6 separate regions of the Homo sapiens genome follow, and regions 2, 3, 4, 5 and 6 are each linked to region 1. The links are contacts of gene promoters, found by promoter capture Hi-C in blood cells and fetal thymus (Javierre and others, 2016). All regions are on one chromosome and are shown on one strand. Each heading gives the region's core, a stretch centred on a gene start or on the middle of the fragment in contact. The rest is flanking DNA. Distances are from core to core; before and after follow the strand shown. Region 1 holds the start of EIF2AK2 (eukaryotic translation initiation factor 2 alpha kinase 2). Region 2 overlaps RMDN2 (regulator of microtubule dynamics 2). Region 3 has its middle 12 kb from the start of RMDN2. Region 4 holds the start of PIRAT1 (PU.1 (SPI1) induced regulator of S100A8 and S100A9 alarmin transcription 1). Region 5 overlaps PIRAT1 (PU.1 (SPI1) induced regulator of S100A8 and S100A9 alarmin transcription 1). Region 6 overlaps PIRAT1 (PU.1 (SPI1) induced regulator of S100A8 and S100A9 alarmin transcription 1).

What was found. The method cuts DNA at HindIII sites, captures the fragments that hold promoters and counts their contacts. A CHiCAGO score of 5 or more calls a contact.
Region 2: a contact is called between a fragment that was not itself captured here and the fragment with the promoter of EIF2AK2 in region 1, in 3 of 17 cell types (fetal thymus, activated CD4 T cells and neutrophils). The highest score is 6.1, in fetal thymus.
Region 3: a contact is called between a fragment that was not itself captured here and the fragment with the promoter of EIF2AK2 in region 1, in 1 of 17 cell types (naive B cells). The highest score is 5.1, in naive B cells.
Region 4: a fragment that was not itself captured here is called in contact with the fragment with the promoter of EIF2AK2 in region 1 in 4 of 17 cell types (activated CD4 T cells, neutrophils, total CD4 T cells and 1 more); the score reaches 6.2 in activated CD4 T cells.
Region 5: a fragment that was not itself captured here is called in contact with the fragment with the promoter of EIF2AK2 in region 1 in 2 of 17 cell types (total B cells and M2 macrophages); the score reaches 6.0 in total B cells.
Region 6: a contact is called between a fragment that was not itself captured here and the fragment with the promoter of EIF2AK2 in region 1, in 3 of 17 cell types (activated CD4 T cells, naive CD4 T cells and naive B cells). The highest score is 6.4, in activated CD4 T cells.

Annotation. Positions count from the first base shown.
Region 1 is chr2:37,154,734-37,159,117 of GRCh38, reverse strand. It overlaps EIF2AK2 (eukaryotic translation initiation factor 2 alpha kinase 2), which reads left to right and starts at 2,138. Exons shown (of 17, transcript NM_001135651.3): 1 at 2,138-2,210. RefSeq lists silencers at 1,839-2,028, 2,229-2,348 and an enhancer at 2,079-2,208. The HindIII fragment of the contact is 2,417 bases long and covers 552-2,968 here.
Region 2 is chr2:37,926,732-37,931,115 of GRCh38, reverse strand. RMDN2 (regulator of microtubule dynamics 2) reads right to left here. Exons shown (of 11, transcript NM_001170791.3): 2 at 1,387-1,854. The coding sequence starts at 1,838. Among named protein-coding and RNA genes, the nearest start is that of RMDN2, 3.6 kb to the right of the region's middle. The HindIII fragment of the contact is 4,176 bases long and covers 1-3,338 here.
Region 3 is chr2:37,910,634-37,915,017 of GRCh38, reverse strand. No RefSeq gene overlaps it. Among named protein-coding and RNA genes, the nearest start is that of RMDN2, 12 kb to the left of the region's middle. The HindIII fragment of the contact is 203 bases long and covers 2,081-2,283 here.
Region 4 is chr2:37,874,519-37,878,902 of GRCh38, reverse strand. PIRAT1 (PU.1 (SPI1) induced regulator of S100A8 and S100A9 alarmin transcription 1) reads left to right here and starts at 3,040. Exons shown (of 4, transcript NR_110012.1): 1 at 3,040-3,160. The HindIII fragment of the contact is 8,395 bases long and covers 1-4,384 here.
Region 5 is chr2:37,845,870-37,850,253 of GRCh38, reverse strand. All of the region lies in intron 2 of PIRAT1 (PU.1 (SPI1) induced regulator of S100A8 and S100A9 alarmin transcription 1), which reads left to right. Among named protein-coding and RNA genes, the nearest start is that of PIRAT1, 28 kb to the left of the region's middle. The HindIII fragment of the contact is 1,998 bases long and covers 768-2,765 here.
Region 6 is chr2:37,825,863-37,830,246 of GRCh38, reverse strand. PIRAT1 (PU.1 (SPI1) induced regulator of S100A8 and S100A9 alarmin transcription 1) reads left to right here. Exons shown (of 4, transcript NR_110012.1): 3 at 1,209-1,314; 4 at 2,369-4,000. Among named protein-coding and RNA genes, the nearest start is that of PIRAT1, 48 kb to the left of the region's middle. The HindIII fragment of the contact is 1,371 bases long and covers 1,852-3,222 here.

The DNA.
Region 1 (4,384 bases), core at 889-3,388:
TCTCAGTACTTTGGAAGGCCGAGGTGGGGGAATCACTTGAGGTTAGGAGTTCCAAACCAGGCTGGCCAATATGGTGAAACCCCTTCTCTACTAAAAATACAAAAATTAGCTAGGTGCGGTGGCACACGCCTGTAATCCCAGTTACTTGGCAGGCTGAGGCAGGGAAATTGCTTGAGCCCGGGAGCCAGAGGTTGTAGTGAGCCAAGATTGTGCCACTGCACTCCAGCCTCGGCAACACAGCAAGACTCTGTCTCAAAACAATTATATTGTAATTCTGGTGCCTGCAGCACCAAGCTTTGCAGCTGAGAGCCCAGACAGTAGGGAATTGGGCTCCTCAGGGAGTCCAATATGCTCACACTTTACCCATTCCAAGAGGTTCACCCATATCATATCATTCCCCTGGACCTCATCACCAACCCTCTGATATCATTCCTTCCAAATCTTTCCCCAGCAGAGAAGGCAGATTTTTACATCACCCCTGAGGCTCCCTGAAATAGGAGGGTTTTCTGGTACAGTCATAAAAGCGTGTGTCCTCTGATCATGCTTAAGCTTGCCATTTTTCATTCTTTAAGCTCTCTTGGGCAGTTCAGGGGCTCAAAAAGTCAGAAAAACTTGTCCTTGCTACTGCCATTGCTGCTGCCACAGCCATCCCACACCCACAAAGCTGACAAATGGACACACAGCACTGTCAGAGTTTTCTTGTCACCTGGAAATGCCACAAAAAGATGGCTCTGCCTCATGTCTACCTTCTAAACCTCCCGCCAGTGCTTTACATATAGGGGACTTAAGCTATGCCCAGGACCAGAGCTACAAGGAAAGTGTAGATTTTAGTTGTTGATACCCTGCAATGTGGGGTTGTTGGGGGATGGAGAAGGGAGGCTGGAGAGGATGCCTGCCTAGGTGTAATTTTTTTTTTTTTTTTTTGAATTGGAGTCCCACTCTGTCACCCAGGCTGGAGTGTAGTGGCATGATCTCAGCTCACTACAATCTCTGCCTCCCAGGTTCAAGCAATTCTCCCTGCCTCAGCCTCTGGAGTAGCTGGGATTACAGGTGCCTGCCACCACGCCCAGCTAATTTTTGTGTTTTTTAGTAGAGACGGGGTTTTGCCATGTTGGCCAGGCTGGTCCTGAACTCCTGACCTCAGGTGATCCGCCCGTCTCAGCCTCCCAAATTTCTGGGATTACAGGCATGAGCCACCGCGCCGGCCTAGGCATAATATTTAATGTATATTTGAGGTCTGTCTTTGGACCACCTTCCTCTCTTATCCCAGCTAAGATACTGAGAGTACAAACTCCTGGTTATAATTCTAACTCCGCTGCTTACTACCTGTGTTAATCCAAATTCTCTGTGCCTCAATACTCATTAGTCACTGTGCCAATGAACTCTGGAACTCTGTGTGACTCTGGGAGTGTGTCGCAGTCCATCAGGTGAGTAGAATTTCTATAAATCGAGGACTACTGGTGTTGGACTATGGTAGGAAGCTCCCTGGGGTACTGTAGGAAGCAGGTGTCTCTATTTAGCAGCAGGACTGGCCCACAGGTGCTTTTACAGCGGCTGGCAAGTGTCTGCTCATGAATGAATGGATGGGTGGGAGCGGAGTGAAGGAGATTACGCCCCCAGGCCTCTGATCCCCAGGCTTGTAAAGGTGAGGGGGCCGCGGTGTGGCAAGAGGGAAAGAGTGCTTTGGTGTTTACAGGCCCCGACTTGAACTGAATCCTGGCTTTGCCACTTACGAGCGGCAGGACCCCTGGGTGAGTTCATTTACTCAGTTTCCTCTATTGTAGAATGGAGCTGGTAAGATCCATCTTCCCAACCCCACCCCAAATATTTGTGTTGAGAGTAAGTGGAACCCTTGATTCGAGAACCTAGTGCGGCCAGCGGACTAGGCCAGCGGAGAACCCTAGGAGCCCCGGGGGCGGGGGATGGGGGTGCAGGGTCCTGGCCGTGCAGGGGCAGCACGTGGGTGCCAAGCCCGCCTGCCGGTGCCAAGCCCGCCCGCCGGTGCCAAGCCCGCCCGCCAGTGCCTCTCGCGCGCACTCTGGATCCAGCGCCAATTTACCCCAATCCCGTAGCAGACGAGGGCTTGTGCGAGAGGGGGCCGGGCGGCTGCAGGGAAGGCGGAGTCCAAGGGGAAAACGAAACTGAGAACCAGCTCTCCCGAAGCCGCGGGTCTCCGGCCGGCGGCGGCGGCGGCGGCGGCGGCGGCGCAGGTGAGCAGGGCAGGGGGCAGCCGAGGGAGCGCGGGGAGCGGGGGCCGGGGGGCCACGTACGAGGGGCTGCAGGCCCAGCCGGGGCGGGACTCGCCAATCCTGCGTCCCCAGCTCAGGACGCGGACGCTGATCCGAAGCCCCTGGCCCCGGCTGGGTCAGCACTGGGAGAGCAGGCCCAGGTCCGCAGCCCGGGTGTGGGGCCCTCCCCAAATCCAGGGAAAGGATCGTGGAGCGGGGTGGGGACTGAAAGCCATTTCCTTCCCGTGAAGAATTTTTATCAGTGCAAGTAACAAATATTTCCCAGGCAGCAGTTGTGGGGCGGGGTCTAGTGGAAGACGAATAGGCCTAGTGGCTTGACACATGGAAAATACGGAGGCCTGAAATACTCATAGACTGGCTGAACAATCTTTGGCTAAAAATCTCTTCCGTGGAGAGTTGCAGTAGTTTCCCAATTGCCTGGCCGCAGTTCCTGTTCCCACTCCGTATCCTCACCCCTGAACCTCCACCCCCTACCTCTTCTCCACACCTCAGCATCTGGAATGTTCCTTTAAGTAAGAACCAGACTCTCCCCTGCTCCGACCTTCCCCGTAGCTTTCCTGTCTCATCAGAATCCTATAAACATTTATTAAGGCTCACAGGCAAGGCCCCTCGCACCCCCTACTCCGGCCACGCTGGCTTCCTTGCTGTTCCTGGTGCACAGCCAAGCATCCTCCAGCCTCTAGGCCTTTGCACTGCTTGTTTCTTCTTTCTGGAAAGCTTCTTCCCCAGATAACTGCATGGGGAAATCCCTCCCTTATCCTGCACTGCTTCCCATGCCAGCTTATCAGAGCAGCCTTCCTCAAACAACCTGCCTATACAAGAAACCCCGCTCTGCCCTTGCTGTTCCCCCTTCCACTACTTCGGTTGTCAACATAGTAGTTATCACCTGGTGACATTTTCTTTCTTTTCTTTTCTTTTTTTTTTTTTTTGAGACAGATTCTCACTCTGTCGCCAGGCTGGAATGCAGTGGCACGATCTGGGCTCACTGCAACCTCTGCCTCTCAGGTTCAAGCGATTTTCCTTCCTCAGCCTCCCAGGTAGCTGGGACTACAGGTGCCCGCCAGCACAGCCAACTAATTTTTTTATTTTTAGTAGAGACAGGGTTTCACCGTGTTGGCCAGGCTGTATGTAGTCTGCTGGAAAGGAAGTGGAGGCATAGCCAAAATAATTTCTGGGCATTAGTAAGATGGACAAATATTATTTTTTAGTGATTATGATGGAGGTTTCTTCCAGATGAGTGAATAAGATGTAGAATCTGCTCCCCAAAGAGCTCACTAATTAGTTTAAAAAGCAGTCAGGGCTGTGTTGAAGGTTGGGCAAGGTGGAGTGGCAAGCCCATACTAGCTGACCCTCCAGCATCAAAGAAGGCTGTGTTGATCCTGATAGATGAGTGGATATTGGTGGGTACAGAGAGAATGCAGATATTGCACTATAAATGTAGAGAAAAGCAGGTGACAAGTCCTGGATGGGGTATCTGGAGATATTTTGGTACTCACTCATTCATTATTGAGCCTGGTCCCTTACCTGTAGTAATTCATGCTCTATTTTGGAAAATAGTTAAATAAGCAATTTTAATAAAGGGGATGAGCACTGTGGAAGAGCCTGTGAAGGAGTGTCTGGGATTTTGAGCTGAAATCTGTAGGAAGTAGAAATTGACCAGGCCAAGACAGCAGAAGGAATAGAGTCAAGGGCATTTTAGGAGGGAGCAGGTTGGACAGAGGCAGTTGGGAGTTCAGGAGAGAGTCCATGGTGGAAGCGTGCTTTTGAGAACCATCATTGTGTCCGTGGAATTTAAAGCCACAAACCTGGAGGTGATCACCAGGGGAGTGAGTCCAAGTAGAAAAGAGCAAGTCTAAGGACCGGGCCCAGTGATGCTAGAATATCTAGAAAAGAGGAAGTTAGAACCATAGAAAAGGTTAAAAAAAAAAAAATAGAAGAAAAGAAGTTGAAGATGAACCAGGAAAGGAGACAGAAAAGGAGTAGCTTGTCAGAACAGAAGAAAACCAGGCCCAGGTGCCATGGCTCATGCCTGTAATCGCAGCACTTTGGGAGGCCAAGGTGGGTGGATCACCTGAGGTCAGGAGTTTGAGACCAGCCTGGCCAACATGGGGAAACCCCGTCTCTACTAAAAATAT
Region 2 (4,384 bases), core at 1-2,500, 770 kb before region 1:
TTGTTGACTGGTTTTAAAATAGGGAAGGAAAATATTCAGAAGGAATCTAAAATAATCTTAAATCATTTGAAACTGTGACTCAGAAAAGAGACCTAGTCGGCGGGTGGGTGGGTGGGTAGCAGCGCTGGGCCTGTGTCTTGAGCCTGGAGGGAGTCTGCTCCTGCCGCCCTCTGCCCTGCCAGAGACAGACCCATGCGCTGCCTGCCCACTGTGCCCCTTTGTCCTCATGTCAGGCGGAGGCGGAAGGCCCACCGTGCCAGAGGCTGGGCACCAGCCTTAACCCTCACTCTGCTAGCACCTCCTCCCTTTCCCTGAGGCAGCACATCTGGCTCACTCTCCCCTCTGTCTCTGGAGTCCACCAGGGAAGGCCCTCATCCCCTGCTGCTACTTCTTTGGGGAATGTGGGTTCCATCCAGGGTTGGGGGCCTCTCTGCTCACCCACTCTGCACCCAGGATCCTAGTCCCCTGCCCTCTGGCACGGCTGCTTCCTGCAAGAAAGTAAGTCTTTGGTCTCCCTGAGAAGCCATGTCCCTCGTGCTGTCTCTTGCCTGTCCCACCTGCGCCCTGCCCTCCAGCTTGTATTTAAGTCCCTGGGCTGCCCCTTGGGGTGCCCCTCGCTCCCAGGTTCCCCTCTGGTGTCATGTCAGGCATTTTGCAAGGAAAAGCCACTTGGGGAAGGATGGAAAAGGACAAAAAAATTAATAAATTTCCATTGGCCCTCGGGTGAGCTGAGGGTTTCTGCAAGGAAAAAAAGAAAAGAAAAGAGACCTAGCCACTGGATTAACCCATGCAAAGATGAGACAGAGTCACCTATATACTCTCAAGTCTTTTTTGACCTGCACTAAAATTCAGTAGCCAGTAGCCCAAGTGGCTATTTAAATTTAATTACAATTAAATAAAATTACAACTTCAATGACATAAAAGGAAAATTCAGTTCCTCAGTTGCATTAGCCACATTTCATGTGCTTTGTGGCCAGAGGGGGCTAGTGGCTACCACATTGGGCAGCACAGACTTGGACCATTTCCATCACTGCGGAAAGTTCTTTTGAACAGGAGTGGTCTAGAGAATTCTCAGAAGGAGTCAGAGTGGCTACATTAAAACAGTAGGTTATACACTTTGGCAAGTAATTACTGCCTTCCTCAATATTCACATAATACCACCTGCTACCAGTAAGTTTTTTATATTCCTTTTGTCAATATGGTCTAAACTAGCTTAAATACTGACTACTGAATATGACTTTAATTATAATCTAAGTCAAAATATCACTCCTTTTCATTTTATGTGAGCAGCAGGATATATGACTGGAACCCATAATGAAAATACCTAAATAATAGTAATAATGATAATAACCAATTCAACATAGGAAATATCTTAAAGAAACTTACCCTCCTTCACTTTCTGCTTCCTCTGAACTATTACTTGTTGCTGAACTTTGAATTGTGGGGAGTCTTCTTTTTCTCGCTCTGTGCTGAGGGCTTATCTTATGAACAGTTATTTTCCCTCCAAGTTCATCTTGTATATATTCCTCCAGCTTTGGAATAGCTTCTTTAAGAAATCTGATTTCCTCTTTGAGTTCTTCCATATTTGTCAGTAATTCGTTTAACTTCTCCAGTATCTGAAGTTGCCTTTCTTGAAAGATTACTGTTGTTCCTTGGTCATCATGTATTTCATCTTGCAAAGTTATTGAATTAAATGTATTACCCAGAGAAAGAAATTCAGGTAACTTCATTGCTATCCCTGGTTTACGGACCTTGTGGTACCACAAGAGCAGCAAGCTGATTCCAGCAGTGCCCACCATGATGCCAAGTATCAACTCTTTGTTTGTGGAATAAGGCATTTCTTGGTTTTCGTTTCTAAAATTAAAAACATAAATGTAAATGAATGTTGTTTATGTCTTTGTCCAAGACAAAAATATAGGTGCTTTTTCAATCAACAAAAGCCAAGTTTACATCACAGGATTTACAAAAAGTAGGACAATAGCCCAAAGGGTGGGAAAGGACAAATGGAAGTATACTGTTGTAAGAGTCTTAGATTACAATGAAGAATTATCATATTAAGTTAAAGATGCATAGCTGTAAACCCTAGAATAACCACTAAAAAACAAACAAACAAAAAAACCCCAGGCAATACATATCAAGACAATAATAGAGATAAAAATGGAACACTAAAGATACTCACTTGGTCCAAAAGAAGGCAGGAAAAGGAGAAAAAAGAACAGATGGGCAAATAGAAAACAAATAGAAGAGAAATTACGCCATTATTAAGTGCGAAAATGGTGCCAAAAGATCAAGAAATAACAGGTTTTTTTTGCCAACAGAAAAGAGTCCATAAAAAGAAAAGAAAAATTGATGAAGTAGACATATAGAAAACTGCATAGCAATAAACTTGAGAAGGCAAAGGAGGTGGGCTCTATCGCACAAGCACAGGAGTTGACCTTTGATGGGAACATAAACCATTCATTCATAGTCATAAAAGGCAGATTATGTGAGCAGAGATTTAAATAGGTGGGTAGATGCAGTGGTGGGAGGTTATGCAAGCTCTCTTTGATTGCTTCACTGTTCTAAGATAGGAAGTGAAGATAGGAAGCAAAGTAAATAGCTGGGAGTGTGAATTGGGGAAAAAATATCAGTAAGATGAAAATTCTGAATTAGGTTGTATACCCGAAATTCACCATCCTCTGCTTTATATCCTGTGATTCCACATATTCTACCAAGCATTGTTTCTTACACTTCAAATGGCCAACTAAATGTAATGTTTCAAATGCTTCCTTGGTGGTCTACTGGTTAGGATTTCTGGGCTCGCAAATGCCCTATGGAAGAGGGTCTGAGAGAACAAGCAGCCATAATCTATTTCTGAAAAGCCTGCTTAAAATAAGAACGTCTTTGGATTCCTATTTCACTAGAGTATATGCCTGGAACACAGAAAGTATCCTGTTTGGATGTTCTACACTTCATTACAGGCCTAAGTGTCAAAGAGAAGGACTGACTTTAAAATAATCTTCCAGAAATTACCTCAGGTGTTAGTGAATATTATATCCAAGAGATTTAAGAATTCCTTCTTTTAAACCAAAGATTCCAGAGAAAGCCTTGGTACTTAATCTGGCCTGCTTTACCTCACAGAAATTTGCCTGGAATTAACTTAAAAAAATTTTTTTTCACCTAATTGGTATAACTGGGAACTATAACCATCTGCCCACTCCCAGCTCATCCAGGAGACATGCCAGCAACAGATTCCAATCAATTTGTAACTTCAGCTGAAATTGTAGCTAATTATTGCTAGATGTGTAAATGTATTCTACAAAAAAATTGTATCACAAAACTAAATTATCTTGAAAGCTTATTGCAAAAAAATAAGTCACTCTATGCCCATTAATTACAACTGCATTCCAGCTAATATTCACACATCAAGTTTAATCATCTTTATTTTTGTCAATAAAATTATTCAGGCAGGATGTCCATTCGCTGATATAGAGGTCTATTAAAGGAAATCTTCCTATTCTGATTGCTTTCTTTTGCCCATACCTTGGACTTTTACATTAAGAAATATAGCCTAGTTTGAAAATATTTTCATTTAATAAGCAAATAAGTAGAAGTAAAAATCTACCTAGGAAGGAGAACTTATTCTTGAGACAGGACCAGGTTTCAGCAGGTGGGAAAGTCTTATTTTGCTTGGCCCTTTCTTTAGGAACTGCACCAATTCCAAATCATCTCTTCCATGCAGGTCCTATTATTATTTTGCAGATAAGTGAACTGAGGCACACAGGTGTCAAGTCACTTACCCAGTGATCACCCAACTGGGAAGTGAAAACTGTCACCTTTGACAACCTGTTCCTAACTCTTGGATGCACCCACAACATGTGGGAGATTTGGAAAGCATCAACAAGGAGGTGAAGGAGAGTACTGACTGAACAGAGATGCTCAAAGCTGAAATATTATTTCAGAACCACAAAAATTAACTAGAAAAAAATAGAATCAACGGAGCTGATGTTTTAAACAAACACAATTAAAGACTAACAGTTCAAGCTATGTTTGAGTTTTATAACAGCATAAAACAAATGTGCTTCAACACTGATAATTTGAAAAATGACACATTAAAAATAATGTACAAAATACATCAGAGTACTTGCTTGCCTTCAGAATAATTTCAAAGGTTGTATGAAGTCATTTACATAGCTTTTTTTTTTTAGAGTCTCGCTCTGTCACCTAGGCTGGAGTGCAGTGGTACAATCACTGCTCACTGTAGCCTCGACCACTTGGGCTCAAGTCATCCTCCTGCCTCAGCCTCCCTAGTAGCTAGGACCACAAGCGTGGGCAACCACGCCCGGCTAATTTTTACATTACTTGTAGAGAGTGAGTCTCCCTATGTTGCTAGGCTGGTCCCGAA
Region 3 (4,384 bases), core at 933-3,432, 760 kb before region 1:
AAAAAAAAGCCATCTAAAAACACTGCAAACAGGGTGTCAGAGAAACCTGTATCAGAAGCAGAACTAGAATTGGAGACAAGTCACTGAGGGGATCTTACCAAAAGGATGGTACTGAGCAGATAGAGAAAAAGAGTATAGGGATCCTGAACCCCCAGAAAGAGCAAAGATGCTAAAGGAGTCCATTCTTGTTTTTCCTGGGATTGATTATGCTACCCTTAGCTGAAAACAAGAACTGCTAAATAACCAGCCCGTAAGTTGAAAGAACAACACCTACTTCCCTATGGGCTTGTGGAGACGGGTCATCTCAGCAACTGCCAGCAGACCCCTTCCCCAATAACACACACTCCAACTTGGTTCTCAGGTCTGTGCAGGAAGAAATAACCCCCTAGTAGAGGGCAGTGCTTATAAAAGAGAAGCTAGCTGCCCTCTTCTACCTGTGGGGCTTGTGAAGAGTTGGGTGTTTGCCCAGAGAATTGCTGATAGTGCAAGAAAGAAGGGGATCTATCCTCTACATCTCCTGTCGGAGGCCTGCGGAGTCAGGGCTCGCTCTCCTGCACCTAGGCCTTGTAGTCTAGGAAGCGCCCTGGGGAGAATGGCAAGTAGTGTGACCAAGTGGAGAGAGTAATGTTCCCAAGAAATACTGAAGATAGATCTTATCAGTACCCACACTCACAAGGGTGGTAGATGTGACTGAGGGCTGCAGAAATGCTGGGGGGCCATTATAGGGAGGGGGGGAAGGGCATGTGCAGTCACAAAAGTGTGGCTTTTTGCCTTCCCCTGGGTGGTGATTGAAAAGGTTTGAAAGAGATTGCCATTGCTTAGGAGTGCTATTTTGGATGTGTCCACACTGTCAGGGCCACTTGTACCCTCCACCTGTCCACACCCAGGGTACAAGGATTCCATGAATTAGATCAGCTGTGCTGACTAAGAGAAAGGATACAGGACCTGAATGCCCCCACTGACCACCTCCATCCCCAACTCTTCAGGTTAAGGGGAGCATCGCAACCAACCAGAAACAGGGCACCCGGCATGCCCTGGGCAGCCACCTGAGGAACCGTCTTTTCTCCTTCTCCTCCTACCTGCACTGATAGCAGAGGAGCAGGAAAGGGAGAAGGTGAAGACAGTGAAGATGGAGAGGAGTGATGGAGAATATGGCTAACCTGATCTAGAGTGAGGGGAGAGAGCTGCTGAACTGGAGATTGAGATGATTGAGATGCTGACTGGGCTACATTTCCATACATTTCCTGACTGGAGTCAGGCTGACACATGGTCAAGGAAACCCACCATGCAGTAGGAAAAGGGAATTTGATAGAGCATAATTGACAGCAGTTTGGAGAAATAAATTCATTCCATGTGTTTATTAGGATTCTCTAAAGGGACAGAACTAATAGGATATATGTATAAATGAAGGGGAGTTTATTAGAAGAATTGACTCACATGATCACAAGGTGAAGTCCCACGATAGGCCATTTGCAAGCTGAAGAGCAAAGAAGCCAGCCCAAGTCCCAAAACCTAAAAAGCAGGGAGGGTGACAGTGCAGCCTTCAGTCTGTGGCCAAAGGCCTGAGAGCCCCTGGCAAATCACTGGTGTTAAGTCCAAGAGTCCAAAAGCTGAAGAACTTGGAGTCTGATATTCGAGGGCAGGAAGCATCCAGCATGGGAGAAAGAGGAAGGCCAGAAGACTCAGCAAGTCAAGTCTTTCCACCTTCTTCTGCCTGCTTTATTCTAGCCGTGCTGGTAGCTGATTAGATGGTGCCCACCCAGATTGAGGGTGAGTCTGCCTTTCCCGGTCCACTGACTCAAATGTTAATTTCCTTTGGCAACACCCTTAGAGACACACCCCAGAACAATACTTTGCATCCTTCAATCCAATCAAGTTGATACTCAATATTAACCATCACAGTGTTACATATGTATAAATGAACTGACATTAGAGGACTCTATTTCTGAAATATTTGGAGTTCACCATAAGAACTTGACTCACCTCCCTGTTAAAATCCAGTTGTCTTGGTTTTCATTCCTTATGACTATTGATATTCATCTGTATAGGAAGAAGGAATGGATTCACTCTCTTCCAAGCTTAATATATAATTCAGTAGCAATTAGTTACCTTAATGACTTTCAGAAACCCCAATGCTAATATTACACCCAAAGGAAAGATGGAAAAAATTATCTCCTTGTCAGCATTCTCTGGGAACTGTTACCTGAATCAAATAGGTCCCCGGAGGAATGGCCAAATTAAATTAATTTATTTTTACAACATAATAGCATTCATGAGCAAGCTTTGGGATTGCTTGCACTTCAAATCAAGAAGAATTCCGTTACTGAAAATTTAAAACCAGCCATATTTGCTTATCATAATTTAAAGACATTTTTATCAATAAAATAATTCAGCATTTAGATTTTAAAACAAATAGAAGTACATTAATTAAAGAGATAAAGCACCCTGTCCTTTTCACTGGATCCTGCTTTCCAGAGGTAAACATTGTTAAGATTTTGAGTGTACAATATTTTTGCATATGAATGCAAATTTCTATGATGTATAAACACGTGTGTATGTTATATATACTGTTTAAACCATATAATGTTCTGCAATTTTTTTCACTTAATGACTAGTTCATTTTGATAACTATTTCATTGTGAGAATATACCGTAATTTTTAACTAGCCTCTGAATTAATAGACCTCTAAGTTATTTCCATCACTGGCTATGAAAAACAATGACTCATTGCAAGTACATTACAAGAAAGAAAAAATAAAATCAGTGCCTGTCATCCAGGAACAGATCTGATGTAGTAGGCCTCAATGTTATTATAAACTAATGTGATGCTTATAGCTAACCCATACTGTTTTCATAGAACATCCAGTTCTGACAAGGATGCTGTGCAATACAAAATGCCAAACACCTGCCTCTCTTAATAAATGAGTGACTGCTAATTCTTTACTAGTTACAGCTTTATCCTAGCTCTTGCCTGCCTTCCCTATAGATAAGATTTACTGAGATACCCAATGACTGAATTGCTTCCTTTCTGACGGTATCAAGAGTGTTCTGTGGAACCTCTCTAAAACTATCCAACTAAAACCCAAATTCTATAATCTGCTCATTCTAATATCATCTTACTGAGACAACCCACAATCAGCTACAGGTGTGTCCCTGATGGTCTTTATTGGAGGGTATTAACAATTTAGTTCTTTAAATATGTAGGTAACATTTTTAGAACTGGAATTCCTGAGTCAAAGAGATCAGTGTTTAAAATTGTGGTAGTTATTGCCTAATTACCCTCCACATATTGCACAATTTTAAAATGCTCACCAACAATTTTTCTGTTGGTTGCTAGCCTTTTCATACAGTTATGTAAAGTTTTCTTTATGATGATGATAACGACTGCAATGAACTAGACACTTTGCTAAGTGATTCCCATGTAACAGACAACGTATTATTAATGCTCATAACAAACCTATGATATAAGTACTGTTGTTCCCGTTTTAGAGATGAGAAAACTGAGGTGGTTAGAGGCTATGCAGTTGCCCAAGGTCACTTGGCCAGGAAGTGCTAGAGCTGGAATTTGCCCTGTCTAGCCCCAGAGTCCCTGCTTGTATCCACTGTACCATGGAGCCTCATTACAGTAATAGAAAATGTGCTGGGTCTACATGAAAAAGTTAAAGCCGTATTGAGAAACATAAAGGAAGGCTGAAATGAATGAAAAGCCATACTATATTCTTGGACACAAAGATTCACTGTTTTAAAGATGCTATGTTTCCTTATATAAATCCACACATTTTCAACCAAAAACATTTCATTTTGGTCCACTTGACAAAATAACTTTAATGTTTAACTGGAAGAAGAAAATGTAACAGTAACCAGGAAAAGTCTGAAAATTAATAATGAAATTGGACTAGCTCTCCCAAGTACTAAAATTTACTGGAACCAGTGCAAGTATTAAAATTTACTAGAACCAGTGCAAGGATAGTGTAATTAATGGAAAAGACTAGAGCCCAATAATAGACCCAGATGTAGACGTAGACATTAGAAACCGATGGAAAATGAGGAACTACTTAGGAAATAGCAAAATTATAACTGACTAGCCTCATACAAAAAATTTTAGATGGATGCCTACTCTGCTACACCAACAGATTTAGCCATAAAATATTAAGCCATACAATTAGACAAAAATTTTTTAAAGCTTTAATCAAAAGCAGGAAGATTTTTCTAATAATGGCATGAAACACATTAGCTATAAAGAAAAATGTGATGGCTGGGTGCGCTGGCTGACGCCTGTAATCCCAACACTTTGGGAGGCCCAGGCGGGTGGATCACCTGAGATCGGGAGTTCAAGACCAGCCTGACCAACATGGAGAAACCCTGTCTCCACTAAAAATACAAAA
Region 4 (4,384 bases), core at 551-3,050, 720 kb before region 1:
TCTTTAAAGAAGTATCTTGAGGGTAACTTTTAGCCAACTTGATTCAACTGAAGTCAGTAAATCTCAGATGGATAATCACCACGTGCTGGTGTAGGGAGAATTTACGGTCCTTATCTTCAAAGGCCTTGTGAAGGCCTCATCACTTCACACTGGGATTATAATACGTAATCACTTTTCATTCATCTATTCATTGATTTATCAAGCATGAGTTGTGCCCTTGAGGAATTCTATTCCAGAAAGAGAGACAGCTTTGTTAAAAAAAAAAAAAAAAAGAAAAAAGAAAGAAAGAAAAGAAAAGAAAAAACAAAACTATCGATCACATGGTAGGTAACAGTATCAGAGAATTCTGTATAAAATGCTGTGAGGGTGGTAGATCATAACCCAAGATGAAAAGGTTTATCATCCTTTTCATCTTGGGTTATGATCAGGGTTGCATATAAAATCCTTTGAGTCTTCCTGAAGTTACTTTCTTAACTATAGCGTGGTTAGGCAAACTTGGCACATCCCTACAATGAGCTACACACATCAGACCACAAAGGATGGAGCCCATATAAATATATGAAAAGCAGATCTTCCCTAGTGGGCCTAAAATGAACCTTCACAGATATGTATCAGAAGGGGATTCATAGCCATGCTCTGTGAGATAGCAGAAACGATAACAACTTTGAAATCAGATGGAAAATTGGACTTAAAAATGCTTCTCATTTAGTTGTGTAATCTTGGACACAGTACTTGCTAGCTCAGAGCCTCTCCAGCTCACAGGATTGCTGTGAAGCAAGCCCCCAGCAGAGGCTGATATCCAGCGTGTGCTCCATAAATGTCGTATAACAATAGCTGCCTTGATCTGCTAGCTTTGGGGTAAATTTTACATATGTCATTTAATCAAGAAAACAACCTTCTAAGTATAATTGTTCATATTTTGCAGATGAAAAGACTGAGGGTAAGAGAAATCACGTAGCTATTAAGTGGTTTAGCTGAAATTCACCCCATTTTTATCCTCTTCCAAAGTTAGTGCTCTTAAGAATTACATAAATAATTATATATTAAGTTCATTGTATTCTCCCTATAGGCTGCTTAAGAATACAATAATATAAGATAAAAATATGTGTACATGAACTTATATTTATCAGTAAGTACTGGGGTATAAAATTGTCTTTCCCTCTTTAAGCCCTAATGTTCATTGACGCGTTAACAATGAGTCACGATTTTATTTCTTGACAGTAGATGGCGCTGGTGATTGTCAAAAGAGACAGAGTCTCCCACACCCCTCTCCTTTCCTGAGCCATTGAAAAACAAAACAAAGAGCTGGTGGAAAAAAAACGCAAAAATTTTCATCGTAATGAAGGATTGAAATTAAAAATTTGGAACCGTCATGTGATTAAGCAGAACGTGTATATGATCCACACACTTTTATTTGGAACTCTAGGGAAAACCTCCTGAGCTATTTGTAAAATTTCATTCTCAGGATTAAAACAAAATATAGTAAAATTTGATTATCCAGACAAAAGATGGATTTATATTTCTCTATTAGACAGATTTTATTTCTGCACCTTAATTTTAGCAAGGGATGAATATTAAGACAACTATGAATTTAGTTGACAAAAAACTCACATATATCTGACTTCCAGAGTCCTGAAGGTGGTATAGAGGAGTATGGTAGTCAAGATAAAAACAAAACAAATTATTATATGACCTTTGAGTATATCACTTAATGTCTCAGGACAGAAGTTTTCTCATTTGTAAAACTGAAATATTTCTTGCCTAATTCACATGGCAGTTGCAAGGATCAAATACAGTAAAGTAGTATAAACACCTTGAGAATTGTCATGTTCTTTCCAAATATGCTTTTTTTCATCTTTACCATACAATCAACCCAACCACCTATAGGTAAAATCATAACACAAGGAAAATTGGAATTCAGAATAAAATACTTGAGCATTAAATTTCCTCATTGGTCCAAAAGCACTTTAATAGGCTTTGGTGAATTAGATTCGTGCAAGAAAAGGGACTAATGTATTTTCAACCATCAAAGGAGTGTTTAGCTTAATAATCAGCTACCCAGAAAATGAAACAGAAAAACACTTGAATCCAAAGCACCGAAGTGAACTGAAGCGGCCTCCACTGTCCTCCCCTAACTGTCCGCACGGCCTGTCCTCTGTAGGAGTGTCCTTGTGTACGTGTGGAGGTTGTGGACACACATGCCTAGGGTTACAGATGCTCTACAGACTTAACTCAGTATAGTGAAGCTGCAGAGATAGTCATAGCCCTAAAGAAGCCTATCTGAGAGCTTTCCTTTGGGTTTTACAAGAGGCATAGATATTTATTCTGCTCTTCTTTTAACAAAAGACTCCCAAATATTTGCTGAAGATGTAGAGTATTGCCATTTCTGCTTCAAAAGCTCTGAGCCTCTCACGGCACCTGTTGCTGCTGCCCCAAGAGCGGAACACACCCTCCACACCAGCAGCCCCAGGACTAGATTCAGCTTCTCAGTGAACCACTTCCATGCTCCACGATGTGCTCTGGGCTTTGGGGACTTAAAACATCGCAGCCGCGGCATAACAGAGATGCGTCAGCTTCTAAAGTCGTAGTGGGCAGTTCTAGAAACCTGACCCTTTCTTCTGCTGCTACAGATTCTATTGGCTTCTGGAGATTCAGAGACGTCCTTCCTCAAGAAGGAACCTCTGCCTGGCCTTCAGCAGGGCCACTGTCATGTGCGATATTCACTTAGAGCCTTATCACATTTGTGGCTGTAGAGGTGTTTGCGTGCCTTGTTTAATTTATCCCACTAGACTGTAAGTTCAGGGCAGATGGGGGATGTCTGGTTTTTGTTTTTTTTTTTTTTGCCTAATACTGTGTCCCCATGCTGGGCACAGACCTAGCACAGAGTAGGTGCTTGGCAAAGAGCTTTTGAATGAATGAATGATTGGCTGTAGTCTTCCTGGGAAAGGGCTGGCAGGCAAGGAAGTGTTAAACCAGCCACTAACCGCCCAGGCTGACCAGCCTTCTCCCTATCTCCCAGGCCTTTCGAACGGAGCCCGGGGAGGACAGGCTGGCAGAGGAGGGAGGAGGGTTTCTAGCTGAGAGAGACTGCGGCTGTGGGCCTGCAGCCTACCCCTCTTCAAGCTCTCCGGAGCCGTTCCTGCGAAACCAGCCCCCACAAGTGAGTGTCTGCGGCCCCCTCCCTCCTCTTTCCCTTATTGCTCCCTGTGGGGATGGGGCTGACACCGAGCTTGATCCTAAGTAAAAGTCTGTTCTAACAGGAAGCAAATAATGTTCCTCCCCTGACGGAGGTGTTTCCTTCTCAAAGAAGTTACAAAGGGCTCTTTTCAGAGAGAAAGGGGCTGGGAATAGTGTGTGGCCTCACTGCCGTCTGCCTTGGGTGGAGCCAGCACGTTCTGGAATCCAGGGGCTTCCTCTTCTAAAGAGGCGCCGGGCCATGCACTGAAACGGGGTGGCCCATCCTCTGGGAGCCCCAGTCCCCTTACCTGCTTGATACAAGCATCCTCTGGAAGTGCCTAGGGTCATTGCCAAGGCCCCTGTTTTCTTTTCTTGGCTTCCAGGACGCCGTAGTCTGTGTTCTTCCTCCCGCCCTGCAGTTCCCTAGCTGGATTCTCTTCCTCGCTGTGATCTCTTCATCCCTGGTTCCCCAGCGCTCTGTCCTGAGCCCCCTTCTCGAACCACACTCTCGTCTGAGTGAGCATATTGAGCTTCATGGCTGTACATTTCCTCCCCGTGCCGAGGAATCCCACACACTTAGTTCCAGCGCCCAGCTCGCCCCCACCTCATCCAGGTCCTTACATCCCCCTGCAGACTCTGTCTCCACTCCACCTCATTGGTGTTTCCCACTCACTAGATCTAAAGCCAAACTCTTGATCCTGACTTCTCCACCCACCAGCTTGCCTTTCTCTTCATCTTCCCCATCTCAGAGAGCGGCTCGGTCCCGAACTGTCTCTTTCCTTCACACCCTTCATCTAACACACAGCAAGGCTTCTCAGCTCTACCTTCAAAATCTACTCCTCATCTTTCTTCTTCCCACCACCGCCACTCAAACGCCCTCGGCCTAGAGGGATCAGACCCATACTACCTGGCTCCTGAACCTCTGCAAGAGTCTCTGATCTTTCTGCTTCCACTCCTGTCTTGCTACAGACTATTCTTCTGACAGCAGCCGGGGTGATCTTTTCAACTACCAGACCGTGTCACCTTGCTTAAAACCAGCTGGGGCTTCCCTCACACGCAGCATGACACTCAAACTCCACACGACAATCTAACCAGCCTCACCAACTGTGGCCCTGGCTTGTCCTTCTGACTTAGCTTCTGTCTCAGCTCAGGCTACACTGGCCTTCTTGGTATTCCTCAGCCCCCCAGCTTGTCACTGCCCAGCCTT
Region 5 (4,384 bases), core at 517-3,016, 690 kb before region 1:
AAGAAGCCAAGCTGTCTTCCCTGACCCCTCAACCTCCCATTCACCCTTTCTGCTCCACTTTCTCCCATACCCTTGCATCATCAGGCTATCTGTCAGTTCAGTGGTTTAGTGCTCAGCTGAGCCAGGACCTGACTAAGATGGGAGGTTGAGGGAAGTGGTGGTGGTGGTGGGGTGGGGTGGGGCAAGTCAGGAGTCACTGATTGCACAGGAAGGGAACTTTCTATTCTTTTCTCTCATTTCCTTAATAAAGACGAGAGAGAAGTCATCATAAAGGTGCTGTTGGTTCACTCCCTCTTAGAAACTCTGTGGCACGGTGTGGCACCTTCTGTTCTTAGCTATGAGCAATCTTTCCAACCTTGCATTGGGTTGGATTGGTGGAGGGAAGGGGGCTCCCCAATCTGTACCTCACATTCTTATGTTCTAGAAAGTAGGTGGCAAAGCCAGGATTTAAATCCAGGCTATGTGGCCCCAAAGCCCATGACCTTTTCTCTACGTAGCGCCATCTCCGCTATGTACTATATTTTAGAGTGGAGCATGCTTTGAAAAAAAATTAAATTTCCAAGCCAAGAAAAAGAGTACAAGGGAGTGTGGGGATGGGGGTGAGGTGGGTGGATATTTTTTAAGTCTTTGCACAAAATTTAGGTAGAAGAAACCAAAAGGGGTGGGTATGAAGGATGTGAAGTTAAAATATCTAAATTTCTGAAACAAATACTATGAGTTTTGCCTGGGAAACATGTACTAATCACTTCCTCAAGTGAATGAAAGCTTGGCCATATCCTACTTCTACTCATGGTAGATGGCTCCAGTGGGTATATTATTTTCGTATGCCTATGAAGTGTGGGCTTGCAGTAAGAGCAGAGATCTGTACAAGACTGCAGAAGGAGTGAAGCTGCCAGGACTTGAAGCTATGTTGACCTGACTGTATCCAACACACAGAACTCAAACACCACACTGTTCATAAAGCAGAGCCAAGGAGAAGGTTTGGATTCTGAGAGCAGACATAGGGAGGGGCCATGTTAGAAGTGGGGGAAGAAGGAGAAGGGGCTGCCACCAACTAAAGTGAGTGTCCTGTCCTCTTTCCACTCAGAAGATTATCCTTCTCACCCTTGTCATTCAATATCTCCCCATCCAGAACACCCTCTTCCCTATTAACCACATCCAACTGACATACTCAGATTTCCTTACAACTTCTTTTTACAGGCTGTTTAAGCCCTGGGTGACTGCCTCTGACTAAACCAGTCAACTGTTGGGTGTAAGTTGTGTTACGGAGAAAGGGTATCTTGAATCAGCTGTGATTTGAGGTTGGACTCACTCAATCATTTTGTATTTTAAGGCATTCTTTGAGGAAGTTCAGAGGTTCACTCCATCCTATTTGAATTAGATTGGGTCTTCAATTTATGGCCATTTAACTCAACAAGTGAAAAGAGTCATTTCTAAGTATTTCATTTTATAATAAGTGGGAAATGAATTGAAATAAAACAGATAAAACAAATAGCATTTTCCACACTATTCACCATTATCTTTCCCTCTGGCAATCAAAAAGTACCTGGCTAATGGTAGCGTGTAGCCAGGTACTTTTCTATTGCCAAAGGGGAAGATAATCTTATGTGACTCACTCCCTGCCCTCAAAGGCAAGGAAATAAGATTGTATGTCTGCAACACAAGCAAGACCATAAGTGACTTTAAAAATTAAGAGATGTGAGAATTGAACTAATCTTTCCAGAATAATGATGATGATAATGATGAAGACGACTGACACTATTTAGTGTTTGTTATGTGCAGGGCACTGTGTTGTTTTACATACTGAGTAGCATTTACACACGCAAGGTAGGGCACTTGTATTGCAAGCAGATGGAGCAGCAAGAGCACAAGCATGGAGAGGGAAGGCTCAGGGCCCATGTGCAAACAGAGCACTTTGGTTAGAAGGCGGGGTACATGAAGGGCACTGGGGGGGTAACAAAGCAGAATGGGTAGCTAGGGGCATGTTATGGAAGATCTTAATTCTACAGATGATGAGGAGCCACATATAAATTTTGAGTGATTTCTATAATTGCTCCCACCCTCCCTGATAGAATTTATCATTTTTTCTCCTGTGCCAGTTGTATTATGTTAAGTTTTATAGAAACATCTGTATCCTGTAGATGTTTCCAAGTTTTTTTTTTTTTTTTTTTTTTTTCTTGATTACAAGCCTCCTTGAGAGCAAGGCGTGGTGCAGAATAGGCTCTTACATGTTGTTCAAAAGAGTCATCATCGCTGTTACCGTCAATCTGGCTGCAGTGAACAGAATGGACAGAGGGGGAGGCAGCCCAAAGGCCAAGAGATAGGCAATGAGACACAACATAGGAGAGGAAGTGTGGACTGGGATGGGGGTAACATGAATTGAGAGCGGGAAGCCTGTGAGAGACAATTTGGAAGTTAATGTTGGTGAAACAGAGCAACTGTGATTTGATCTATGTTGGCGGGTAAGATGGGGTGGAATTGGGGTCCAGGCATTACGAAGGGCTCCCAGGAGACATATTGCCAGGGTAGGCAGAAAGAGTCCTACTCCAGGGGAAGGCAGAGCTAACTGTGAAGATGTGGGTCTTGCTCAGTTGCTCCTTCTGCCTGGAATTCCCACTCACCCCCACTGTAAGTAATCCAATCATACACAACTTTCAGGAACATCTCAGAACATCTCAGAAGCCTGTGCCTTTTAGATGCCTATCAGAATCTCTATTTCTAGGCATTAGCTCTCCCACCTTCCAACCCATATAGCATTTTAAGCTTCCCATGTGGCATGTTCAGTTTCATGTCACACTTATTTGTTCTCTTACCCCTTCCTAACAGAACATAGGCTCCCTTTGTTCTGTGTTCATACCATTTTATTCATTTGAGTGGAACAACTGCCCTGATTCCAGAGCTTTATTTTCAGATCCAAGGGGAGGGGAAGAAGTCAACAGTGACTCCAAGGTTTTTGCCTGAACTATCAGAAGGATGGAGCTGCCATTAACTAAGATGGGGAAGAGCATGATTGATAAGAAATAGCAGGAGGTCATTTTTGGACAAGATATATTTGAAAAGTCTACTACACAGCCCACTGGAGATGTTGAGTGGACAGTTTGATATATAAATTTGAAACTTAGGAGTGAGATACAAGCTACAGGTATACATTTGGGAGTTGTTAACTTACAAAGGGCCTTTAAACGCTTCAGACTGGATGGGATCATCAGTAAACTGAATAGGGCTAGAAAAGAGAAGACATCCAAGGACTGAACTCTGAGGTACTCCAGAGTTTGGGGAGAAAAGGAATAAATAGCAAATGAGACTGAGAAGTGACTGATGTGAAAGAAGGAAAACAAACAAAATGCAGAGTCCTAAACATAGCAAGATTAAAGGATTTCCAGGGGAAGGGAATCATCTATTACTTCACATTATGCTACTAGGTCAAGTAAGATAATGACCGAGAATTGAATTAGCAATGTGGAGGTCATTGGTGAACTTGAAAGAGTACTTTTGGTGGAATGGTGAGGACAAAGGTTTGATTGGAATGAGTGTAAAAGGGGAATGAAGGAGAGGAATTAGAGGCAAAAACTTTGAGAAATTTTCTGTAACAAGAGAAGTGGGACACTAGATGGGTGGAAAGATAAACTGAGGTTTCTTTCTTTTTTTTTTTTTTTTTTTTTCAGAAAAAAAAAAAATAATAATAGAAATACCAGCATGCTGATAGGAGTAATCCAAGAACAAGAGGAAAATTAGTGCAGGAGAGAGAGAGAGAGAGTGAGAGAGAGAGAGAGAGAGAGAGTGAGAGAGAGAGAGACAGGGAGAGGAGAAAGAGAGAGACAGAGAGAGGAGAAAGAGAGAGGGAGAGGAGAAAGAGAGAGACAGAGAGGAGGACAGAGACAGAGAGAGGAGAAAGAGAGAGACAGAGAGAGGGAGAGAACGGAGAATTACAAGAGTGGTGTCCTTGAACAGGTGAGAGGGAATGGGAGCTGGTGTACAAGTATAAGGAATGGCCCTATAGGCACAGATGGTTCATCCATAGTAATGAGAGGAAAGGTAGAGCACAGTTGTGGCAGGTGAGTAGATATGAAATGGAACATTGTGGAAGTTCTTTTATTTCTGCTTCAAGTTTCAGGAAAGAATGGGAAATACTTGGGTGCCAAAGGAAAAAAGAAAATTCAAACTAGGAAGGCAAGCTTCTGTGTTGATATTTCAGCCAGTGTGGGGAGGCGTCAGGAGTTGGTCAGATACTTTCCTGGCTTGGATTTTAATGGCTATGGAGGGACAGAGACAAGATTGCGTGTCTACAAAAGGTGCTGAGATGGCTACGTAAAGCCTGGACTCTCAAAGGACACCACTGAAAGGTTAGACTAGAAAACATTGTACCTGCTGGGCATGGTGGCTC
Region 6 (4,384 bases), core at 1,288-3,787, 670 kb before region 1:
TGGGGAGACTAAGAATGTTTAAGTAACTTAACAAACACTCAGTAAGGAATGGGATCAGGATTCTTCTCCAGGGCTAACAGTTTTAACTGCCATTCTACATTTCCTGCCTGAGACAGCTGCCAACCTGGGCTTCTGTGACTGCCACTCCATGCTTCTCAAGCCAGGGTGCACGTTAGACTCATCTGGAGAGCTTGGTAAAGCCATCCATGTCCAGGCTCACCCACAGAGTCCTCAGTTTTCTCAGTTTGAGGAGGGGCCTGGGTACCAATACTTTTTAAAAGCTCCCTCTGGGTGATTCTAAGTACAATCAGGGTGTCAATCACTGATGTCCATAATGAAAAGTGTCAGACTCCAAAGCAAACTCAGGAGGACTGCCTTCATGGTATGGATCCCTGGCAGATTTGAACCTTAGAGGATTAGGCTAGCAGCTTGTGGAAGCGGATGCAAATCTTCCAATCCTCTAAGGGCAGATGAGCCTCTGGACTCATGAGAACGCTGGTCTTGGTAAAAATCCCCTGCATACCACAGGCCTCCCTTGGAGAAATCACCTAAAGAAACACCAGGAAGAATTCATTCTGGCCTCAAATAGTTACATGGATGTTTGTTACAAGAAGACACATTTAACCATTGAAGTTCCTACTCATTGAGTGAACCGTGTCTCCCTCCTCTCTGGTTTCCAGAAACAAGGATTTTTTTCTAAACTCCTCTTACTTCTTGCCTCATGGCTAATGCCCACGGAGGTGGGGTGAGTGACCTGCTGGTAACCAAGGGAAATGAATCTGCACAGGAAGCCCAGGCCCTCCCTCCCTCCCTTCTCATTAGAAGCCAGCTTCCCCTGGAAAACAACCACATTCTGCTCTACTTTCTCATGTCTATGTGGCCCTCCCTGAGTGGGAAGGCTTAAGTTTTGTAAGATTCATCATAAGTGTGGTGATATTTCCTAATTCCAGGGAATGGAGCTAGTCATGCCACACATCTTTGCTGTTTTCACGAACTGAGGTAATTTTTATTTTTATTTTTATTTTTTTGAGGAACAGTCTTACTCTGTCACCCAGGCTGCAGTGTAGTGGTGTGATCACAGCTCACTGCAGCCTTGACCTCCTGGGCTTAGGTGATCCTCCCACCCTAGCCTCCCATGTAGCTGGGACTAGAGGTATGTGCCACCTCACCTCCTTTTTTTCTTTTCTTTTTCTTTTTTGGAGAGACAGATTCTTCTTATGTTGCTATTTTAAACTCCTGAACTCAAGTGATCCTCCTGCCTTGGCCTCCCAAAGTGCTGGGATTACAGGTGTGAGACACTGCACCCTGCCCAAGGTAATATTTTGACCTTCCTTTACCTTATTCTTTGTCCATCTCTTAATTAGTTTATAACTTAGACGGGAAAAAAGAGGTGTCTAAATAAATAAATAAATAAATTTATTTAAATAAATATTAAATAAATCCCATCAGTTCCCCATAGAATGCCATTTTCCCCTAGCTGTCTATTCATGTAACAAAACGAACAAGAAAACACTACAAATTCTCTCCCTATTTATACTGTCCCACCATTATGTTATAACTCTCATTATAATGTTTTAGTTTTTCCTTGAAATAATAATCATCAACCCATTTGTAAACCATATGTTTCTACCCACAAGTGACAACCAGAATTTCAGGATTAATTGCAAGAGCCATAAAGAGCTTTTTGGTCATTTCCCTAAGAGCCTCCATGAATAGTAACAAGGGCGAATAGTAACCCCCGGCTTCAGCTGTCCCCACTGCTGTGGCAGGTTATGATACTTTCTTTCCTAAAGTAAAGGCCAAGACAGATGGCTTTTCAGGACTTCCAGAGTCTGTATGACATAAGAAGCTTATTCCAGTAAAGGGAACAAGACCCTTGTCATCTGACACCAATGAGATGCTCTTCCCTTGGCTGGCAGGGATCTGGAGGAGGAGGAGCAGATAACCTTCAGCCTAAATAAGCAATACCATCATTATTCTGGAATCTCTCTGAAGTATGGTTGGTTACAGTGTGGAATTCCACAGGGCACGTGCCTGTCTTGGACTCTATCCAAGGGAGTAAGTTATCACAAGGACCTCATTATAACAGGGGCTCCAGGGACAGTGTCAGTCAGCAGGCTTCAAGGTAGCTGCTAAAATTCTGGTGCTGGTCTGTTTAATCACTGCATGCTTGTTAATACAGTCAAGCCTCAGTTACAACAGAATCAACAGCCCAGTTTGTCACTCATCCATTCCTTGTTCCGTCACCGCCTGGTTGAGTTTCTGGCTTGTTTATGGGGCAACTCTGGGTGTCGGGCAAAATGAATGCCTCTTGTTTGAAATGCCTAATCCCGAGGTTTTTCACCTATGTGTTGTTTTCTCCCACCAGCACCTCTGCTCCGTGCCATGCTCTTGGCTAATTGGAGTTGTGAAAGGCATGAGGATTCTGGTCATGGACTCAGCTCTCCCATAGGGTTCTGACACCAAAGCAATGGTCACAACAGTGAAAGGAAGAATCCATCTGGCCAGGCTCAGGTGGTTCAAGGCCTTCAGAATCTGCCTTGAGACTCTCACTGGCTTTAGACTGAAAACCATCTTGGCCCCGTCCATCCGTGTAAGCAATTTAACGACAGCTTGCAAAGCACCGAGCTTTAACAGAAAGAAGAGATGAGCACAGCGCAAGAACTTGGACTCCAGAAGAGCTGCCTAACAGATTATTTTTCTGTGGCATTTCATGAGAACAAACGAAGTAGGAATTTTCCTTTTGTTTGTCTGGCCTTTGGCATCGTTTACTTTCTTTTTATTCTTCTGAAATGTACTTCGAGCCCTGGCAGCATTTCTGTCCTAAAATCTTATTGTCAGAGGTTTATTTTTCAGCTTTTCAAATCATATCTGATAGAGTGAGTGTACTGCCTGGACTCATCACTTTACTTCAGAAGAAATACAGCTCACCCTTTAAATGACAATGGTGACTGTCCACATCTTTATGTTTTCTACACTGAAGTGGCAGGCTTCATTTAAAAATAATGTTTTCCCTCATCAAAAGAGAGCTAGGGTAGAACCGTCAACTCTGCTGTTGTCTGGGTAGTGACCTAACACCCACGTTTTGGACAATCACTCACTGTCTTATATTGGGTTTTCATTGCATGTAGGATAATTCTTTGTCAATGGTAGTTTTGTCAACCGTGATCTGAGGTAATGAGGTTTTCTACTTTTGCTTGAAATTTTGAAAATATGCAAGCTTTAAACATTTGCAAAGTTGGATTCTGTTTTCTTTAGAAAGCAATCTGATTTGCTGATATTCTCTCCATCTGTCAGGGGATGCGTGATGTGGTGTAGACTTAATGTGCTGCCTTTCTGGAACATGGACAGAGTAGCAGCACAGAAAAATGAGCATTTCAGCTCTGTGATGATTTGTGAAAAAAAATCTCAGATCATTGAGCAGGCATTTTGCTGACACCTGTGAAAAGTAACCACATGAGAGAGCATGGCGTGATGGTCGGAGGCCACGTGCTGGAGCTGGACTGCTTGAGTCAAATCCCAGCTGCTCAGCTGTAGTGAACTGAATGGTGGTCCCCAAAAGATACATGTATCTCCTAATCCCTGGAACCTGTGAATGTGACCTTATTAGGCAAAAGGGTCTTTGCAGATGTAATTACATTGAGGCTCTCAGAGATGAGAACATCCTGGATTATCAGGGTGGGTCCTATATCCAATGACAAGTGTCTCCTTATAGGAGACAGAAGAAGTTGCAGACCCGGAAGAGACTAAGTAAAGATGGAGGCAGAGACTGGAGTGAGGCTGCTGCAGGCCAAAAATGCCTGGTGCCAGCAAAAGCTGGAAGAGGCAAGGAAGGACCTTTCCCTGGGGCTTTTGGAGGGAGTGCAGCCCTGCTGATGCCTTAGTGTTGGATATCTGGGCTATGGAACTATGAGAGAGAAACTTCTGTTGTTTTAAGCCACCTAGTTTGTGGTACTCTGTTATGGCAGCCACAGGAAACTAATACACTCTTTACCACCTGAGTGACCTTGGCCAACTTACTTAACCTCCATGAATCAGTCCCCTCAAAGGACCACCCTCCCCCCAGGGTCACTGTGATGATAAAGTGCTTTAGCATAGGTGACTGGTTTAGACCAGGGCCTGGTACCTAGCACATGCTATGCCAGTGTTTCTATCATGGCAGCAGCAGATGCAGTGGAGCTTAGATTTCAACTGTGTCCATGCTGGTTAGAAAAGTCACAGTCTGGGACACAGGACACTTCTGGAAGAATCTCCCTCAGTGGATCCCAGTGTTCCAGCAATGTTTTCCAAGCAGCTGAAGAACAGGAAGCAGGAACAGGGTTCCCTACAAGAGCCATTATTCAGATGCCTCTACATCTGACTGGTTTCGGAGAAGTGTGACTTC